Linked DNA regions of Homo sapiens: regions 1 and 2 are each linked to region 3. Evidence: promoter capture Hi-C in 16 types of primary human blood cells and fetal thymus (Javierre and others, 2016). All regions are on one chromosome and are shown on one strand. Each heading gives the region's core, a stretch centred on a gene start or on the middle of the fragment in contact. The rest is flanking DNA. Distances are from core to core; before and after follow the strand shown. Region 1 overlaps ATG5 (autophagy related 5). Region 2 has its middle 140 kb from the start of PRDM1. Region 3 holds the start of PRDM1 (PR/SET domain 1).

What was found. Contacts are between HindIII fragments. The CHiCAGO score rates a contact against its expected background, and 5 or more counts as called.
Region 1: a fragment that was not itself captured here is called in contact with the fragment with the promoter of PRDM1 in region 3 in 1 of 17 cell types (activated CD4 T cells); the score reaches 5.4 in activated CD4 T cells.
Region 2: a fragment that was not itself captured here is called in contact with the fragment with the promoter of PRDM1 in region 3 in 1 of 17 cell types (activated CD4 T cells); the score reaches 5.0 in activated CD4 T cells.

What each region holds. Positions count from the first base shown.
Region 1 is chr6:106,253,270-106,255,969 of GRCh38, reverse strand. All of the region lies in intron 5 of ATG5 (autophagy related 5), which reads left to right. Among named protein-coding and RNA genes, the nearest start is that of ATG5, 71 kb to the left of the region's middle. The HindIII fragment of the contact is 3,373 bases long and covers 1-2,700 here.
Region 2 is chr6:105,940,129-105,942,859 of GRCh38, reverse strand. No RefSeq gene overlaps it. Among named protein-coding and RNA genes, the nearest start is that of PRDM1, 140 kb to the left of the region's middle. The HindIII fragment of the contact is 6,159 bases long and covers 1-2,731 here.
Region 3 is chr6:106,085,002-106,087,701 of GRCh38, reverse strand. It overlaps PRDM1 (PR/SET domain 1), which reads right to left and starts at 1,366. Exons shown (of 7, transcript NM_001198.4): 1 at 1,107-1,366. The coding sequence starts at 1,148. RefSeq lists an enhancer at 1,019-1,738. The HindIII fragment of the contact is 5,820 bases long and covers 1-2,700 here.

The DNA of each region.
Region 1 (2,700 bases), core at 140-2,639, 170 kb before region 3:
CAAGAGAAATAACATTTTCTTAATATACAGTAGTTTTAAAAAGTAATAGAACAGGAGGTTATTGGTTATAAATCTATAGATGATTGTAACAGGAATACATTTAGATAATTAGTCCTGGCCTACCACTGTGCTGTAGCTCTGTAAATCTCTTTTTGACAAGCTGCTTTAAAGATTGTCATGGATGAAGGGAAAATGGGAGTATAGTTGAAGATCATTATTATTAGAAATTTTAATATAAGCACATAGAACAACAGAATAATTTGTTTTTTACATTATGAAATTTTTGAGTTTTGAATCTTTTTTATTACCTGGCTTAAAAATACATTTGAAATAAATTATTCTTAATTGGTTAGAATACGATAATTGAATCCTGTCTACTTAAAAATGAAGGCAGTTACTGGGATTGACTCTTGGAATACGTTTAAAGATGTTGTAACTTACAGTCATGGTTTATTGGCTGGTGATGTTGAAATTGGAATTTACAGTCTGCTTTTCTCAATACTTAATAAGATTAATTTTCTTTAAATTTCCAAGCAGTAGTTTTTAACGATTTACAGAGTTTTCATGAGGTAGCTAGTTTTTACTGACTCCATTTATAAAGCTATGCTGTAATAAGGTGTAGCAATTGTGAACCTCTCATCTTTTCAGATTAACAAGAACCCCTTCCCCCATCATGCTTATGTCCTCTCCCCTACTATATTAAGACATGTTAGAAGAAGAAGGGGTTGGAAAGGAATGGTTATCTAGGTCTTAAGCGATAGAGTTGGAACTCAGACTTGCTTGTCAAGACTGGAGGACTCCTCAGATGTTGGCCCAGATGTTCTTGGACCACCATTCTTATTCCCACCGTTACATGATATGGCTGGAGATGAATGCAGTGAAATTGATGGGAGGTAAATGGCAACTAAATTGTGCCCACAGGGTGAGAAGATAGAACCTTATATGGTGGTTGAAAAAGTTGGAGGAAGCAAAAGGGACATAGAGGGTATTTGGTTGTAAATATTGCAGCTATACTGTGTTAGGGCTTTTATTCTCCCAATTATGGCTAGCAAAGGCTGCTCAATTGCATAACTCCAACAGGCAACATTCACATAGAATTTGATGTGAGTGATGCAGACTCCCTGGCTCTGAGCCAGACTGAACAGTCCAGCAGTTCTGTAATGATGGGGTTTTGGCAGGGCCACTTTTCCATACTGGTCCTGACACTTCTTACCTGGTAGAATCTAGAAGCTCAGTGCCTTCTCTTGTTGAATCTGAGGCAGCCTAAAAGATAATGATAATAGGAAACACTTATGTAGCACTTAATTTGTGTCAGGCACAGTAAGTGTCTTGCTAAAACTCACACAACTATTAAATAAATGACAAAGCTGGGAAACAAACCCAGGCAGTGTGGCTCCAGACTGTCTACTTTTTCCACTATGCCACACTTTGTTTGCTATTCCCTTGTTTTTATTGTCTCCATTGCCTAGTCATTCATTTAGCTATTAGTGATTAACAAACATTCGTTGAGTATGTACTATGTGCATACTCATAGTACATTAACTTTCTAGGGCTGAAGTACGTAGAACTTTCTAGGGCTGAAGATAAAGTCTTTGCCCTCATGGGACTTACATTTTGGTTGAGGGAGAGCGACAGTACATACTTAAACATGTAAATTGCATAATTTGAAGTAACGATAAGTATTTAGAATAAAATAGAGTGATGGTATAGGGAATGATTGGAAAGTGGGACTGTCTTACCTAGGATTATGAAAGAAATCTTTCTGAGGGGGTAACACTATTGAGACTTGAATGATGAGAAGCAGTTATGTAAAGATTAGGAAAGTGGGGATTCTAGGCTGCTAAAACTGAAATGGGAGCAAGTTTGGTATTTACTAGGGACCGAAAAGAAAAATAGCATGACTTAGAGCTTAGTAAGTAAGGTAGGTAGTAACTTAGTAAGTTAGTAAGGTAGACAGTGAGATCTCAGAGAAATGCAGCAATAACTTTCCAAGGGGGTGGAATGGGCCTGGTAGGAATCTGCTTCTAGGGGAAGAGGTATTTTGTTACTCACATTATTTATGGTTGCCTGCATGTAGAGTTTGGTCAGGGAGCAGTCTGCCCCAGATGCAGGCAGTAAGGAGATGCAGTGGGTTGCATATTTTTAAAAATGATTTTAGTATATAACTTAAAATAACCATATCATTAATGTGCATCATAAAGCATTATGTTTTATGGCCCATTAGAAAATATTTGAAAATTTACTCGTTGATGATTTATACTTTAAAAGAGCTTTCTGGATGCTGTGCACAGGGGATAAACATAGGACAGTGACCAAGTAGGAGGCTATTGTGTTGGCTCAGAGAGGTGAAAGTGGTAGTGGTGAACACGGAGAGAAGTAATTGCAGTCTAAATATATATTGATTACTGTTCTTGATGCCAATTTTCTAAGACTGTGGCACTTACTTTGTAGGGTAAAGGAGTAAATGTCTTCTCTCAGTTAATTTTCAGACAGTTACTGTCCAGGTCACAATTGTCCAGGAATTTGGATTTTATTGCTTTTGTGATTCACTGAAACCACAGATTTCCCTGGGTAGAAACCTTCTGCCAAGATGTGTGTTTATGGACAGGATGAAGGATGAACTTCCTCCAGGACTGGCACTGCTCAGCCCTGACGCAGAGGCTAGCCCACTGGGCCCACCTACTTCTGTGTTCATGATGA
Region 2 (2,731 bases), core at 104-2,603, 140 kb after region 3:
TTGTTCAAACACATTTTGTCTACTTTTCCTTTTCGGGATTGGATGATTCCACCCATCACTAACATTTAATTTAGGCCTGGATGCAACCTATTACTCTTCTTCTTGGGTTTCATTAATATGTCCCAAATTTGCTGTGCCTGCCCTTAGCATCCTAGTCCTACAAATTTCTTGGGTATATTTTCTTAGGACTTAGACAATATCTATAATATGTACCCATCTGTAATAATTGTATTATCCTGAAAGTTACTCAATTATCTTTAGAATATTTTTATTTATTTGCTAGCAGTAAATGTGAAGATAGATCTGGATAGTCTTACAGAAGTGATAATCTTCAGACGAAATGTGGTAGAGTTTTTTAAATAGAAAACAGTATTTGAGGATTTCTTTGAACATCAAAATCTAGCTTAAATTCCATTTTATAAATATAAATGTCTTCTTGGCCCCCTTTATAATTATACAATAAAGAGAAATGTAAAAGATCTTGGCTCAATTGTGCCTCCACTTAGCCATGTGATCTTGGGAAAAATCAGCTCATCATTTTGGTGCTTAGCTTCCTTATAGAGAGAGGAGGTATCTGGCTGGACTGTAATGTCTCTAAGGTTTCAGAAGGCTCATCTTATCTTAGTAAATCAAAAGACTCTGAAGCAGGTATTTTACCACATGGTTGGTACAGTTTTCTGAGATATCTCTTTGGACCCAATCCCTGTTACAAATGCGGTTTAGGAGGTGGAACTTTTATTTCAGTACTCAGATGACTCTTGTTCAGTACCCATCTAGAAAACTAGCTGGCAGCTTGAAAATGAGGGGAAATGAGACAAAGAGAAAAGTCCCAAATATTCCCTTAATCCTTTAAGCAAGAAAACACTGGAAGGGAGAAATGTGGGAATATATACGGTTCTGAACAAGCAATAACAGTAATGTGGCTTTCACCCTCCCTCTCCTTTTTCTCACTAGCCCTACACATAATTTAGTCATCTATGTTGGAAATGAGAACTATGTCTCTTGATAGAACTTATAGTACCAGTTCCCATGGTATAAGAATGACATCATTCATTTTTTTGCAGTTCAGTGAAAAACAAATGAAATTTCTCACCTCAAATTTCAGAAAGCAAAAGGAATTGTTCCCAAGAAGAACTTGTCATTTCCTTGGAGTGATTATGAAACCTGTCTGTGGTTATGGAGAATTTTCCTTCTCTGAATTTATGTAAACTCAAAATTTTCCAGGCTTTAGAAATAATCGTAGATAAATAAAAATATTGAGCCTCTTAGTTTTATTGGTTCAGGTTTGGATGTGATTCAAATTTTGTACATGTGCCAGTGGTTGGGGTGGATGGATGAAGGAAAGAGAAAACGAACTGAGGGAGACATTTGGAGTACAAGATGGATGGTGCCAATGCACTGCACATGGCTGTTTTTTGTTTTTTGTGCAGGTGGAGCCGTGGATGGGAGGATTAAACACCCCATTCATCTGAGGTGTGCATATGTCAGCACCTTTCAGGTACTTAGAAATGGAGTGCTTTATTTTAGTGATTAGTGTGTGAATGAAAAACCTGAAGAAAATGTACTAGAAAGAAGCCTATGTTGAATGCCTGGGGAGGGTAGTGAAATTCTTTCAGCCAGCTCCAGGTTAAAGAAGCCTCACATTTCAGCTCTAGGGCAGCTTGGAGCACTGGGAGAAGGACCTGTTGAAGGACCTCATTAGCGTGAATGATGGCTTCCTTTTACACATTAGTCAATTTTCAGGCAAGGCTTTTCACACTGTAAAGAGATAAAACAAAACAAAACAAAAAAACCCCCCAAACTCTTTTTGAAAATGTCCTGAAGGCGACTTTATGGCAGCAGCAGATCCCAGATTAGTCAAAGAAGCTGTTTGTTTACATTGTTCAGTTATTTTGAAAACTGTTAAACTATTGTTTCCAAGATGACAAATAAGTGGATCCTAGGGTCACTTAGAATCACATGTTAATCTTCTTAATGTCAACACTAGGACAATTTGGGAAAGAAAAGGGATCTCACCCTTCCCTCACATCCATATTTTGTTACTCTATAAATTGTATTTCAAAAAGAGGCATGGTTTTCTTTCTTGATACCTGGTTCAGATCGGCCAGGAGAAATCCTTCATGTTCTGTCTTCCTGCCTTGCATAGTTGCTTATTTTAGGAATAAATATAATAACTTTATTAACAGCACATTGGCAAATTAGTCTTAAAAATGGTTTGGACTAATTTTAATCTTTTGAAAACTAATTTTTTCATTTAGGTTAAAATGTTTCATTGTTGGTACAATTTATTTTGCCTTCCTTCAACTTCAATCAGCTGTCTATGCATGTGTCTGTCTGTGAGTAGAACTAGGAAGGAGTCCGTGTGGGAAAGATTAAAATACTTTTTTTTTTTAATTTTAAACTCAGTTATTTAGTGTTTATACAGTTTATCGAGTCAGAGCCTTGGAAATTAAAATTTGGAGGATCAGGACGAGCTTCCAAAAGCAGTTTTAAAACCATCTTCTCCTCAAATACCCATAGATCCAGTGGTGAGCCTGGGGTTATCAGTCTAGGTACCTCCTCCCTTATGGTGAGCTCCCCTTTGGGGCCAGTTGAGACGGTAACAGGCCATCAAAGGAGTACTCATGATTTTGAACCTCAAAGGGAAGAGATTGGGGCCTGGATTATTTTTCCGCAAGAGATTTCTCAGTATTTATTTATTTATTTATTTATTTATTTATTTATTTATTTG
Region 3 (2,700 bases), core at 117-2,616:
TTTCCAAATGGGGAAGACCGAACTTTCCCACCAGCTCCCAACGCAAAACAACTTTCAAAACAACTGCCTCCTCCCTCTGCTGCGAGCTCTCTTTCATCCTCTCACATGGAAGACTGAAAAGGGTTGCATCCTGCCAGCATCACTGAGCTACGGCCTCTTAGAAATCACTTGGACCACAGGAAAAGAGGAGGAAAAATGGGTGAAGGGGAAAACAGCCTGCAGTGTCTTCTGACTTGCAAGCATCTCATACCAAATTGAAAAGGCAAAAACAAAACATAAAACCGTTTAATAAAATTCCCTGGAGAGAATTCCTTTAGGAGTCCTCAGCTACAAATAGCACTTTCCATTTAAATCTGAAAGTGTATGAATTCCCAGAAGTCACTGATGTACTACAGTTTACTGTAACTAAAGTTATAACAAATTTAGAAGACTTGGAGGACAAGCTCTGCTTCCACTTGTACATTGATGAGGATATTCCCCCAAAATCCTCCCTCACACTCAGAAAAAAACTGTTTTCCAAAGGCAAAAAAAGGTAAACAACTTCTGTAAGGGTTTTCTCATATAGACATGTTTGATAAAAATGAGGAATATGGGTATCATTTCCATGTAAGAATGTGTGTTTGTTCAAATGTAAACATAACATTCTGTGGAAGTCCTTCAAGGAGGTTTTTACATTCTTCCACTTCTCTAAATAGGATGCTCTTAAAAAAAAAAAAGTTGGATGCAAAGTTGTTTTTCCCTCAGTTATGATTTAAGCAAACCTGCTTATTTTTATTTAGTTCCAACATGTAGAGTCATGACGCCAAACACATGTTAAAAATAAAATAAAATAGAAAACTTCAGCCAACCCGGAATAGTTTGACGAGTGTGAGCTGGAACCACTACTGAAATTTCAATGAATTGGCAATTATGTCTAGAACTGAAAGGGTTAATGATTCATAAGGAAAGTCTCACAAATGTTTGACAGCACTAAGTGCACTAAAGCAGAAGCATGTTTCTACTGCGACATTAGCCAAAAAAAATTAATAATAATAACAATAAAGGAAAAGAAAATAAAGTTTTCAGATCAATTTCAGAATTAAAAAAAAAAAATTCAAGTTCCTTACCAAGGTCGTACCCACACGTTTTTCCAAGCAAATATCCAACATCTGAGAAAAGTCTCGTTCATCTCTACCCAGTCCACATTCTCCCCGCGTCCCCCGCCAGGCTGAGCCGCACAGACGCGCACCTCGGCGGTCCCTCCTCGCTTCGTCCGGCCGCCCGGGCGCCCGCGTCCCAGCTCCGGGCGGACAGGTGCCGCGGTCGCTGCTCTTGCCTCTCCGCAACACTGGAGGGCCGAGTGTCACGGCAGCACTTTGTCTGTGTTAACCGTCTGGCTTCCCCTCCCTGCTTAAGATTTCCTTAGCCACTCGGCTGCGCGAAGTGGGGGCGTGGCCAACGTGGCCAACACCACCTGGCCGAGCCCAGGGCTTTCCCCCAGATTGCTAGCACAGCCGCCGAGAGCTTCCTCTCTTCGCATGTGTATTTCAACATTGACTTGGAATCTTCTTACTTCCCTTTGAAGGCACTTAACCTCAACGCTTACTTGGGCTCTATTGTATTCTAAACACTCCAGATCGCCCTCCTTCCTGGCGCGGCAGAATTAGGGGGCGCACGTTCCTTAAATTAAGGAAACTTAAAATTTACCTACACAGTTTCTGATTTCTCAGCTCAAATCCCCAGGTACAAAAGACACAAATCTTACTTCAAAAGAGCAAGTTAAATTGTTTTTGCAGCTAGTGTAATACAGTGGAGCTGTCTGGTCCTCAAGCTGTTGTGTATGTAACGCACGTTTCCCCGCCCCCCGCCCCAAAAGTTGTAACATTCCGTTTCTCCTGCTAACGTTCAAACTTGGCAGAACTAACTTTCCTCTTTTAACTATTTAGTAAATAGGGAAATAGGCAAAAGTTATAATTCTACAGATTGTTTGTTTTCCTTTCCTCTCCTCCCAGAACCCACAGGCTGACTTCCCAGGAGTGTAAGTAAAATGTAGAGCATTAGTCGTTTCACAGTTCAGAGGAATATTGAACTGATCACTGCAAGTGGAAAGCGGTCGGAGGCAGTAATTAGTGGGGCTTATTCTGAGCCCCGGCCAGCTTTTCCTCCAGCCCAGTCAGTCCTCTGTTGAAGGAAGGACATCCTGTGATGATGGCATACAATGTCCTGTTTGTTTATTATTAAGAGCGTGGACCTTGCATTCCTGCTTCTCATTACAAAACAAACCAGATGCTTTACTTCCTTCAATGGTCTTGTGCCTTCAGCAAGGAATCCTTTAATTCAGAGAAACAATGTTTATAGCAAACACCCCATTTCAATTATTATTTAGATCATTGAAATCCAGGTCTTCCATTTTTCCTGCTTGCCTTACCATAGGTAGGTTTTTTTAAAATCATTTCTCCTTCGACCTGCAATGTCTTTTCTAACATTTTAAATACACGTGTGCACACACATCCACCCACACACACACCCACATACACACACCCAGTTCCAACCTAATGATACCAACTTAGTCATACAATGAAATGGACATCTGAGTATTTGTTTACAGGAAGAAATGAAACAAAGCAAAACAAAAGCCCAACTCAATCCTAAAAAATATGTCTGTTTATCTTTAAAATTTCTTTTCTCACTTTTAGAAAACTTTTCTAGAATTTTTTTTAG